Regions from separate parts of the Homo sapiens genome. Here all the other regions are linked to region 1. Evidence: promoter capture Hi-C in 16 types of primary human blood cells and fetal thymus (Javierre and others, 2016). All regions are on one chromosome and are shown on one strand. The core of a region is centred on a gene start or on the middle of the fragment in contact, and the rest is flanking DNA. Distances in the headings are between cores, read along the strand shown.

Evidence for each region. The method cuts DNA at HindIII sites, captures the fragments that hold promoters and counts their contacts. A CHiCAGO score of 5 or more calls a contact.
Region 2: a contact is called between a fragment that was not itself captured here and the fragment with the promoter of LINC01547 in region 1, in 4 of 17 cell types (naive CD8 T cells, M1 macrophages, M2 macrophages and 1 more). The highest score is 5.8, in naive CD8 T cells.
Region 3: a fragment that was not itself captured here is called in contact with the fragment with the promoter of LINC01547 in region 1 in 2 of 17 cell types (M0 macrophages and M1 macrophages); the score reaches 5.4 in M0 macrophages.

The regions. Positions count from the first base shown.
Region 1 is chr21:44,938,322-44,942,184 of GRCh38, reverse strand. LINC01547 (long intergenic non-protein coding RNA 1547) reads left to right here and starts at 2,272. Exons shown (of 4, transcript NR_027128.1): 1 at 2,272-2,592. SLX9 (SLX9 ribosome biogenesis factor) reads right to left here and starts at 2,156. Exons shown (of 6, transcript NM_058190.4): 1 at 1,999-2,156. The coding sequence starts at 2,127. RefSeq lists enhancers at 1,562-1,641, 1,672-1,721, 1,906-2,470 and a silencer at 1,812-2,331. The HindIII fragment of the contact is 6,939 bases long and covers 1-3,863 here.
Region 2 is chr21:45,118,480-45,122,342 of GRCh38, reverse strand. The region is part of intron 1 of ADARB1 (adenosine deaminase RNA specific B1); the gene reads right to left. Among named protein-coding and RNA genes, the nearest start is that of ADARB1, 46 kb to the right of the region's middle. The HindIII fragment of the contact is 1,189 bases long and covers 1,164-2,352 here.
Region 3 is chr21:45,099,277-45,103,139 of GRCh38, reverse strand. All of the region lies in intron 1 of ADARB1 (adenosine deaminase RNA specific B1), which reads right to left. Among named protein-coding and RNA genes, the nearest start is that of ADARB1, 27 kb to the right of the region's middle. The HindIII fragment of the contact is 1,685 bases long and covers 1,411-3,095 here.

The sequences.
Region 1 (3,863 bases), core at 1,023-3,522:
ATACGGCAGACGACTGCTTTTCCCACTGTACCTGGGACATTCTCCATGGTAGCACTTTATATCTCATTAATGCATATTTTTGGAGCTTAATAAAAAAATGCTGGCACAGGTTTCAATGAGCCAAGACAACTAAAGGCACGCCCCTCTCCTGCTAGTAGAGAGAGATGTCACCTGAGAAGCTGAAGCTGCTCCTGCCCCATCTCTGGTGTCCTGACACGGAGCTCTTGCCCAGGAGCGGTAGGCTGCAAAAAGGAAGAACTCCATAGCTCTGCCAGAAGGGACTCGCCTTGTCTGCAGCTCGTGTGAGGGCTCTCACGCCTAAGGGTGTTGCTGACCAGGAAGGAGCTCTGGGTGGTGACAGATGCAGAGGGCAGGGTGCCCAAGGCTCCTGGGTAGACAGTAAGCCCCTCTGACCCAGGAACAACTCCCAGGAGGTCGCATCCCTGGCAGTCTGGAGGCTGTGCGCATGTTCAAGGACGCACCCTACCAGGAGTGAGCAGAGGGACTCTGTAAGCTACTAGTCCTTGGCTGTGCCTCTGAGGGCAGAAATGAAGGTCAAAAATGTGAACACGCTGAATCTGACAGCCACCTCCAAGCCAGAGGTATCCAGTGGTAAAAGGCAAAAACCCCCTGGCCAAGGAGGCTTTAAGAACAATTGCTGACCAGTGAGGAGCTTAAGCAGATCCAACTAGCCAGGCTAAAAGAGAAAAACAGGAAGAAAAAAAAAAAACCAAGGGGGCACATCAGAGGCTGCACACAGCCAGAAGGGGACAAGGAGAGAGGTCACATAGTTCAGTTCCAGATCAATAAACAAAGTAATCAAGCAGATACTAATCCCTGGTTGCTACAGGACTATCCAAAATGCCCAATTTTCCACAAAAAGTGATACATTCAAAGAAGGCCCACCTGCTCCTACCTGCCAGCATGAGCCAGGCAACAGAAACTGCTTTGAGCAGCCCACATGTAAAGAATTCAGAGTAGGCATTATAAATATTTCTAAGGACTAAAAGAGACCGTGTCTAAAGAACTAAACGAAGGTATAATGACATTCTCACATCAAACAGAAAACATCAGTAAAGAGTATTTTTTAAAATGAGGAGGAACAGGAGAAGAGAAAGAAAGTAAATAAATTCTGGAGTCAAAAAAAATGAAAATTTCACTGGAAAGGTTCAAAAGCACCTCTGGGCTGGCAGAACATCAGTAAACTTGAATTAAGATAGATTATGCCATCTGAAGAAAAGAGAAAAACTGAGTGAACAGCGCCTCAGAGCACTGTGGGACACCATTAAGCACGACGTACATATTTATAATGGAAGTATCCGAAAGAGAGGAGTGACAGAAAGGGGCAGAAAAAAATATTCAAGGAAATAATGGCTGAAGACTTGCCAATGTAACGAAAAACATTAACCTACACACGCAAGAAGCTCAGTGAACACGCAAAATAAATGCAGATACCTACACCAAGACACATCGGTCAAAATATTTAAGGCAAAAGCCAAAAAAAAAAAAAAATCCTGAAAGCAATAATTCCACTCACATGCAGTGTCTAGAATAAAGACAAAAGGTAGATTCGTGCTTGCTTAGGGCTGAGGGGGATGGAGAAACAGGCCAGCCGACTGCTAAAGGGAACGGGGTCTCTCTTCAGTTTGCTCTCCGTTCTTCTCTAACTCTGGGAACGTCCTTTCCTTTCCGGGGAGCTCAGTGCGATTCAGGAACCTCTGGGGTCCGCGTGGCAACCCTGGACCGCAGCGGGAGGTTCCTGGCTCTCTCCCCTCCCCGGGAGCGGCGCGAGTCCGTGTGCCCAGGACGGCAGCGCAGAGCGGAGCCTCGGAGTTTACGACGCTTCGCGAAGCAAGAAGGTCGCGTCTGTAGCGCAGCAAATGCCCGCAGAGCCCGAGGGAAGGCCGGGGTCGCGGAACCCTCCCGGAGGCGGCGCCCCGCAGCTCACCCGCCCTCGGACCCACGCGGCAGCCCCCGGCCAGCGCCTCCCCAGCTCACCTTCCCCGCGGCCGAGGCCGGCGGAGGGGTCGCCTCCGGGGCAGGGGGCGCGGGGCCGGGGGCGGCCTCCCCTTTCGGCCTCACGGCAGCCTGGTGCACTCGGGCGCGCAACCCCCTCACTTTCCCCATCTTCCCGGCGGAGCACGGCAAACGTGCGGAGCGCCTCCCGGAAGCTGGTCCTGCGTTCTCGCCGCCCGGCGGAAACAGGAGCCGCGGCTGCCGGGAGCCCCGCGGCCGCCGGAAGTACCCGGAAGCGGCTCGGGCGGGCGCAGGGTCGCGGGTGTAGGGTGGCGGCGCTCCGCCTTTCACCGACGCACCTGGGAGAAACAGACCGGAGGACGCGGGTGGCGCGGAGCACGAGAAACAACGAGTTTCTGTCTAGATCGTGGGGGACCCAAGCCCGGGGTTGCGTCCAAGGTCGGGGATGGAGAGGACGCGACCCCCGCGGCAGTCGAGATGGCCTTTTTAAAATTCTATATTTGAGAAGGAGTCTCGCGCTGTCGCCCAGGCTGGAGCGCAATGGCGCGAAATCGGCTCATTGCAGCCTCGACGTCCAGGACTCGAGCGATCCTCCCGCCTCAGCCTCTCGAGAAGGTGGGACCACCGGTGGGCACCGCCACGCCCGGCTAATTTTTATTAATGTTTTGCTAGAGCCGGGATCTTGCTGTGTTGTCTGGCTGGTCTTAAACTCCTGGGCTCCAGCGATCCTCCCTCCTCGGCCTCCCAAAGCGCTGGGATTACAGGCATGAGCCACACTGCGCCTGGCCAAGCTAGTGCATTTTAATTGACCTTCACTTCATGTCAATTTATTTTTTACACTATTCCATTTAGTCCTCAGAACAGTTCTTTAGAATTGGGTATTGCTCCGTTTACGTGGGAAACATAGCAGCGAGGTAACGGGCTGGGTCCCGTGCTGGGAACGGGAGCCCTGCTCATCTGACTGCTTGCACCCTGTGCTGTCTATGCTGGGCGTACTGGGGGGCGTTAGGGAAGAGACCACAGGTACGATGCAATGCCTGTCCTCAAGGAGCCCATTGTTCTCATGGGAACACAAAGCTGACACATCGAGAACAAACTATGGAACAGGCTGTGGCTGAGGGCCATGAAGGAAGGCTGCCAAGTCCGGGCCCAGCCAGGTAGCAGCCACACCTCTATCTACCCTGCTCCCCAACACTGGGCACCAGCACTCACCTGCCCAGGACCCACAGTGAAAACCCACCCACAAAAAATGCACTTTGGAGAAGAGTAGCAGGTCCCAGGCAGAGCCAGGGCCACCTCTCAGAAAGGACATCAAGTTTCTCGCCCAGCTGAGAGATGGACAGATGACCGCACAAGCCACTCACAGCCCAAGGTGATGGACTCTAGGATATATTCAAGGCTGAGCAACTGGCTTGAAGTCGTGTCTACTTACATATTCAAAGACCTAGTGAGCATTCACAAGTCATTCTTTTTACCCTCCAACTAGCCGTGTTCTCAACCAGTCTACCTAGGAATGCTGTTGGCTGTGAAAACTCCAGAGGCTGGTATCTTTAGAGTTCCTTCAGGGTGCATTCAGCATCTGAGCCTAGCGACTCTTGAGGTGAAAGTGCTCACGTTTTTTTTTTGGTGAGAGAGTCTCACTCTGTCGCCCAGGCTGGAGTGCAGTGGCGCAGTCTCAAAGTGCTCATCTTTATGTACTTTGGATGCCGGTGAATGCCTATTGTTTCAGCCAGCTGGATCACTTTACCTGTTAACCATTCCAATGTGAGTTTACTTCATGGAATTGTGCCTGTTTTTAAAGAACATATTCTGGCTGGGCGTGGTGGCCCACGCCTGTAATCCCAGCACTTTGGGAGGCTGAGGCAGGCGGATCACCTGAGGTCAGG
Region 2 (3,863 bases), core at 509-3,008, 180 kb before region 1:
TTATCATTCACAGCACTTGATGGATTTGCTGTGCCAGTAATAATCATATTGATTAAACGAAGCAACTGTTTCCTTTTAAAGTGATATTTATCATTATAATTTAATTAGACTGTGGAAATTGAGGCTCTGCTCTGCCAAAAACTAAGTACTCTCATTTTCTACCTCGCATAAAGCCAAGACTATGCACGCGTGTGCAGTTAAACACATATGGGCAACTGATGAGATTTCACTGTTTCGAGACAGTAATTACTGCAGCAAGTACAGAGGCATGATATGCTCGTGGCAAGTAAAGTACAGGTCAAGAGAAAGTAATCAACTGGAGGCTGCTACGGCAAAGAAGCCTTCTTCCTAATTTTTGACAGTAGCTGCCATTTGAAGTGCTTTATTAGTCCTAAGAATTAGTAGCAACAATGGGGAACAAAAAGTTGATGGCCCGAGAGGAGGGGATACAGCTGGGAAAACAGCCTTGAACATGCTGGAAAAGTCAAACACACCATATACGTACAGAAAACAACGGCTAAAGGAGATACAAACAGTTAGTAAACAGGTAAACTAAGAATGACCAATTGGACTTGGCAGGACAGGGAAGCAGAGAGACCCTCCAGAAATAATAGCTATAATGACTAACGCTAAAAGCTCAGTGGACAGGTTTTAGCAGCATATTAGACACAGTTAAAGAGAAAATGGCCAAACTGGGCAGTAGAACCGAAGCAATAACCCAGAAAGCAGTGCAGAGACACACGAGAGACAGAAAGTACCAAAAGCATGGGAGCTCTCACAGAAACAGATTCGGCCAACTAACCCGCAGCAGAATAAATACAAATAAGCATGAACCCAGACACAGCACAGAGAAATGATGCGGGAGCACAGGGGGACAGTCAGGCTGAGAGCGGATGCCCAGGGCCCAGGGAAGAGACCAGTAGTGGAGCAGGATGAGATCTTCAATGTGCAGACGGGAAAGTAAACTCCCCACCTAACAACAGTCTTTCCACAATAAGAATAAAGATGTTTTCACACAAATCACACCTGAGATAGTTAATCCTAAGGGACACATTCCAGAAGAACTGTGCTCTTGTAGAGAAAGAATATGTAGCAAAAAAGAGTGGCTATAAAAGGAAGCAGCATGTGAAAGCACTGGCTGAATAAAGGAAAAGCACAAAGCTTACACATACCGTTCCAGCGAACAAAAAAACAGGGAACATCCCCCACTCGTTTTACGAGCCCAGTATAATCTCGGTAGTAAAATCTGTCAAGAATGTGCCAGACATGAACTATCAGCGGCTTTTACAAATGTAGACACAAAAATCATAACAAAATTAGCATATTTAAATCCAGGGACATATAAAAGACAGTAGGTCACACCTGAGTTGAATACACACATACCAAGAATACACAGCTGGCTTCAGATGTGAGAATCGATCAACGCACTGAACAGCGACATTTCTATTCAAGGGTTCTTTAACTTAGATTTCTCAATCATTCAAACTGGTATTTTTGTAAATTTCCATTAGTAGAATAAACCTCACGCTGTTCTCAAAATATACACTACCTGTGGAAGATAAAAAAATGGAGGATAAAGAAAGCTGATAAAATGAAAACAAACATTGTCGCCAATAATGAAAGTAAAGGCCCAGCACACACAGCTTCTCCACATTCCTGCCCTTGCTGGAGGAAGACAATAAGCTCGGAAGTTGCCCCCAGAGCAATGCGGTGGCAGGGGTGGTGTCCTCAGAGGGTCCTAGTGTGTCCGTGATAAGGCCATCATGAACAGAACCAAAGAAGGCAAAAGGGAGACATCTGGCCTTCGCAGGCTTCCTTAGAGTGTTTTCCACACCTGTGAGGATCCTGAGCGAGTGCCAGGAGGAGACGGAAGAAGTGCAGCTTCACACTCCTCTCCAGAGCAGGCATTCAATCGACAGTTCACGAATGGGCTTCAGGAAGACAATGAGAAGTGTGAAATCATATATGAAATGATGCGTTCATATGCACAGATGAATTTTTCTAACGAAAATGTAAATGGATTTAATCAGATATTCAAAAGAACCCAATACCCCACAAGTGTGCCAACATCTGACATGCAAACTTGTCCGTGCGGTAGAGGCCAAAGACAGCCCTCACCATGGGCTGTGAGATGACCCAAAACCCAATCCTTTCTTTGGCACTTCACCAACAAAATTTCATAGCCTTTCTTTTCTCAGTGCAACTAAGGGCTAGTCCATGGTAACCTACGAAGTGAATTATTACGGGGCACTAAAATTTAAGATTTATAACCTAAACCTGAGGTGTTACTAGGCTTTATAGAGGTCTAGTTCAGTATCAAGAAGGGAGGCTCCTGTGCAGAGCTGCAAAGCTTGGTAATGCGCCCACGTGGGGGCCACAAAGTCCTCATCCTCAGAAACAGCATTTCGTGCGTTACCAATGACAGCTTTATTTATAATGGATTTCAATTACCAACACTCTTGCTTTTATCATTTCGATGTCCATTTTCTCATGTTCACAGCAGTTTAATGTGGGCTGTCTGGGTATATACCACGATGACAATTCATAGTTTCAGGAGCCATGATTTTTCAACAACTTATAAGTACCCTAAGTCATCTCCGTCTTTATTTCGAAACAGATGTATAGAACCTCCTCTAAATTCTGATGCAGCAGTAACATTTTATTTGTTGGTGATGTGCTGATTAAGAGTATATGAAATTTAACTAACTTGCAACACACCATCAAGGCAAGTGTAACAAAGTTACCCAGCTATTTTTAAGTTTATGGCCACACTCTTACATAGTAAAGAACAACACGTCTCATAAGAACTTCTGTATCAAAAGTACCTAAACTGGTTCATTTAATTTCATCCCGATTCTTTGATAATGTTGAGTGATATTTCCACTGGAGAGCAAGAACAGCTACTGGTAAAGGTGACCAAGGCACTAATTTTGCCACTGAGAGTGATCTAAAAAGGCTTTTAGGCTAGGCACAGTGGTGTGCTCAGCACTTTGGGAGGCCAAGGTGGGAGGATGGCTTGAGCCTAGGAGTTCGAGACCAGTCTGGGCAACACGGCAAGACCCCACCTCTACAAAAAATTTAAAAATTAATCAGTCAATGTGGCACGTGACTGTGGTCCAAGCTACTCAAGAGGCTGATAACAGGAGTATTGCTTGAGCCCAGAAGGTGGAGGCTGCAGTGAGCCACGATCACACTACTGCACTTCACCCTGGGTGACAGAGCGAGACCCTGCCTCTAAATTAATTAATTAAAAGGGCTTTTAATTAAAAATGGTGATAAAGTACACCATATCTTCTCTCCATTCTTCCCAGAGCTCTGTTAAAATGTCAGAAAAGGTACTTTTTGGTGGTGAATGAACCATAATAGTGCACGGTGCTAAAAATTTACAGAGGGATTTAGCAGAACACAAGAAAGCCTGCCAGGGCTTTTAGGGCATAAGGCAGACGAAAGCAGGTTGATGCGAGAGAGCAGAGGAAACTGCAGAGCAAGACAACAGAGGTGAGGGGTCTTCCCAAGAAGCAGGAGCCATAGGGAACGCTTTTATTCCTGGGCTGAAACCTGAGAATCGCTCTCCAAAGAAAGCCTGAGGTTTTCTAAGGGGTGATCCCAATATGGGCACGCGGGCTGGAAGAGAAGCAGATCCGGGTTTAGGGTAACGAAAAATCAAACCGTCAGGACATGAAGCCCAGGGAGGGAGAGAAGGAGAGAGTAGAAGATGTTTACCTGCAGTAGAACAAGGATCAAACGGATATCCAACTTCTCATTACCAACACTAGACTCTGGAAAATAATAGAGAATATTTTCTGATTTCAAAAGGAAAATTATACGATCCTAGAATTCTAGACCCTACCAAATTATCAATA
Region 3 (3,863 bases), core at 1,004-3,503, 160 kb before region 1:
GGCCCCTCTTGGCTGTGAGTTTCTCAGACTCTTCTTGGTTTTTGACTGTTGAGGAAGCTGTCCCTCAGCTGGGATCTGTCTGATGTTTTTCTCATGGTACAGGAAGGGACTGAGTTTGGGGATGAAGCCCCCAGAGGTGAAGGCCCACTGTCACTCCACTGTATCAGGCACACCCTGTCACCGTGACTGACCACTGTGAGGCTGACCTGGCCCCTGCTGGGTTGAGCCCCCCGCCCCACTTCCATGCTGTCCTCTCTGGAAGGAAGTTGCTCTGCACAGCCCTTGCCTTGGGGTAAGGGTTGTGCTCCACCTCCTGGAAGACACAGCAGATACAGCAGATGCAGAGATGATCTGGAATTGTGCTGGAAAAGGAGCTTTGTCTTTTCTCCTCATTTATCAGTCATTTATTTATGTCAGTCTGGACTCATGGATATTTATTTATCTCTGGGCTATAATCCAATACTACTTTGTTTTGTTGTAGAAACTGTTCCAGCTTTGGCCACTGGGAGCTCTTTCAGTTGGCTCCTGGGTCCCTTTGACACCACCCATTGATGTGGGTGTGGTTATGTTTGTTTCTCGGCATTTCCTTGCCATTTCCTTGGCATTCCTGGCACTTGTGTTATTTCCTGCCCAGTCCTAGAATCAGCTATTTCTCCAATAAAGAATGCTCACTCTATTTTTTATATGCTGTTTTATGGAACATGCAGCTACATGTTTAAAAAATATAGTTGTGGTTACAGCTGGTTTTGCTGACTTGAATCCATCCCCTTCTTTCTGACAACAGCACCCCAAATGTGCTGAGGAAAGTGCCTTCTCCCATTGAACTGCCTGCGTAATTACTTCCAAGAAATCAAAAATTATTTTAAACCCTTGTGCTGATAACAGACAGACACCAAGGTAAGGAAGATAATTATAGAAATTCTGATTTAGAATTAAAATAAGCACATTGGCCAGGCATGGTGGCTCACATCTGTAATCCCAGCAACTTGGGAGGCCGAAGAGGGAGGATCGCTTGACGCCAGGAGTTCAAGTCTAGCCTGGGCAACACAGCAAGACTCCGTCTCTACAAAAAATAAAAAAAGTTAGCTGGGTGTGGTAGTGCGCCTGTAGCCCCACAGTCCCAGCTACTCAGGAGGCTGAGGTGGGAGGATCACTTGAGCCTGGAAGTTGAGGCTGCAGTGAACCATGATTACCACTGCACTCCAGCCTGAGTAACAGAGTGAGACCCTGTCCCAAATAAATAAATAAGCACAAAATATGTTCACTTTAAAATAAACCATGTCTGGCAAAAGTATGTCCACCACTGTAACTACTGACCCCTTACACAATTTTAAGCAGCACTCATCTCCCACGTAATAGTCAGCAAGACTGGTGTGCTAACATACCCAGCATTCAAAAACTCCAAAAGCTTGTGTATTAAGTATACACTATCCAGAAAATTTCACATGCTTTCTGCTTCAGGAAAGAAATATTAAAGCTCTACGATGGTGAAGTTCATTACAATTTCCAAAAGCAAAAGGATCACTGATTACTTAAGAAGCAACGCTTCCTTTAAACTCCAGTACAGGAGGTAAATGTTAAACGCTAGCAAATCTTTTGAGAAGCATTAAAAAAGGTTTTCGTTACATCACAGGTATACTTAATCATAACGTCAAAGCCTCTAAAACAAAAACTCTGTGCACGCACTTCAGGAGTTTTTCCCACGTGCCGCGAAAGAAGGGAGCCTAGGTGTCTGGAGAGATCCTCTGCACCCAGCACTCGGCGACTGGCAGCGGGCATTTCAGCACCTGCTAAAGCCCGCTGGGCAGCTTGGCAGCGCCAGGCGCGGGGCTGCGGGGACACGGCCCGCCCGCGCGCAGGGCACAGCGAGCACGTGAGCGCAGAGCCAGCTCCGGAGCGCTACGGCGCGCGTGGCGGCACACCTGCTCCCCGAGGCTGATCGTTAACAGCCGTGGGCAGGGGTTGGGCCAGGGTACAGCTGTCAGGACCTCACTGGACAGGACCGGAGAGGACCCCGCGTAACCGCGGAACAGACACTCCCGGCAGCGGCCGCCGCCGCGGCACTGCTACGGGACGAGCCGGAGCGCTTGGCCATGGCGGCCCGATCCGCACTGGCGCTGCTGCTGCTGCTGCCAGTCCTGCTCCTGCCGGTGCAGAGCCGCTCAGAGCCCGAGACCACCGCGCCCACCCCTACCCCAATCCCGGGTGGCAACTCGTCAGTGAGCAGGCCCCTGCCCAGCATCGAGCTCCACGCCTGCGGCCCATACCCCAAACCAGGCCTGCTCATCCTGCTGGCCCCGCTGGCCCTGTGGCCCATTCTCCTGTAGGGACGCCCAGCCAGCCACCTCTAAGTCGCCGCTGGGACTGGCCTGCCCCATTGAGCAACAGAGACGCTTGACAGCCGCCCGCCTCCATTCCTTGACTTCACCCAGAAATGGGTCCAGAAAACTGAATCCCACCAGCACTGGTTTGGAGCAACCGGACACCGAGGTTTCACCTCCAGGGATTCCATGAAGAGCCTCAATGGAGATGCCACATCCTACTGAGTTAAAGATGGGCTGAGGAACTTGGGTACCCACAAGTCTGCCTTGGGAATCAAAAGAAAATATTTACCTTTAGTTTGGTTCATTAAATGCATGAAGTCAAAATATGACCAGGTAGTGTGCGAGGCCTCCTTGTTCTGGGTAGAGCTGGGAAGGGCAGGGATGGCAAGCGCTCCCTAAGTCTGCCACCTGTAGCCTTGCAGAGTTCTCTAGGAAATGCACTGCTGCTCTGGTGTTCAGTGCAATGCAGTATTTGACTTGGGAACAGTGACTGACGGGGGCCAGTGCAAGCCTAGTTAGTAAGCCCAGCCTGTCTACTCCACTCTCACCCACACATCCCCATTCTTCCAAAGAACCTTGTAGCTATCATTTCAACCTAGTTCCAAAGAGCAGACATACATAATCTCACATAACCTGCAATGCTGCTTTTTAAATTTCTGTATATGTTGAATAATTTTTACAAGTTAAAAGTGACCTTTTTAAACATATATTTTTAAATCTTTAACACGGGGGGAGAAAAAGGAAAGTTTTGGAAAGGGAAGACTAGAAGCTTGGCTGGTTCAGTTCACACAAGTTTTACACTATTTCTATCCATGTGTTATCTTTATAAATCCACATTTGGAATACTTCCCATATAAATATCTTTAGATAGAAACTGAGACTAAGCCTTGAGTAGCTTCTGGAAAGTAACCCCAACACCACCACCAAGTTGCACACACACCAATGTCCAGCATCTAGGAGGGCTTCAGGGCCCCCACAGCCCAAGACGTGCCAGCCCAAGAGAGCACTCCCAGAAACTCCAGATCCAGCCAGCCTCAGAACAGCATGTGAACACTTCACACGGGCTTACTGTGCATGTTTTGGATTGAGCCTTGTGTTCAGTAATTATGCTTGGATTTACATAACTTAAAATGACATATTTTAACATAAATTGTAAATTTTTATTTTTTATTTTTTTGAGACAGAGTCTCGCTCTGTCACCCAGGCTGGAGTGGTCCCCTCCCAAGGTTCAAGTGATTCTCATGTATCAGCCTCCTGCTCGCTGGGATCACAGGTGTGCGCCACCACACCCAGCTAATTTTTTTTGTACTTTTAGTAGAGATAGGGTTTCACCATGTTGGCCAGGCTGGTCTCAAACTCCTGACCTCAAGTGATCCACCCGCCTCGGCCTCCCAAAGCGCTGGGATTACAGGCGTGAGCCACCCACCGCGCCCAGCCTGTAAATTATTTTTTTAAAAAGGCTTGCAGAGCAATCCGAAGACCCTAATTTAACAGGCTGTATACTAGGCACTGAAGGATGATCAACTATAGCTTCATTAA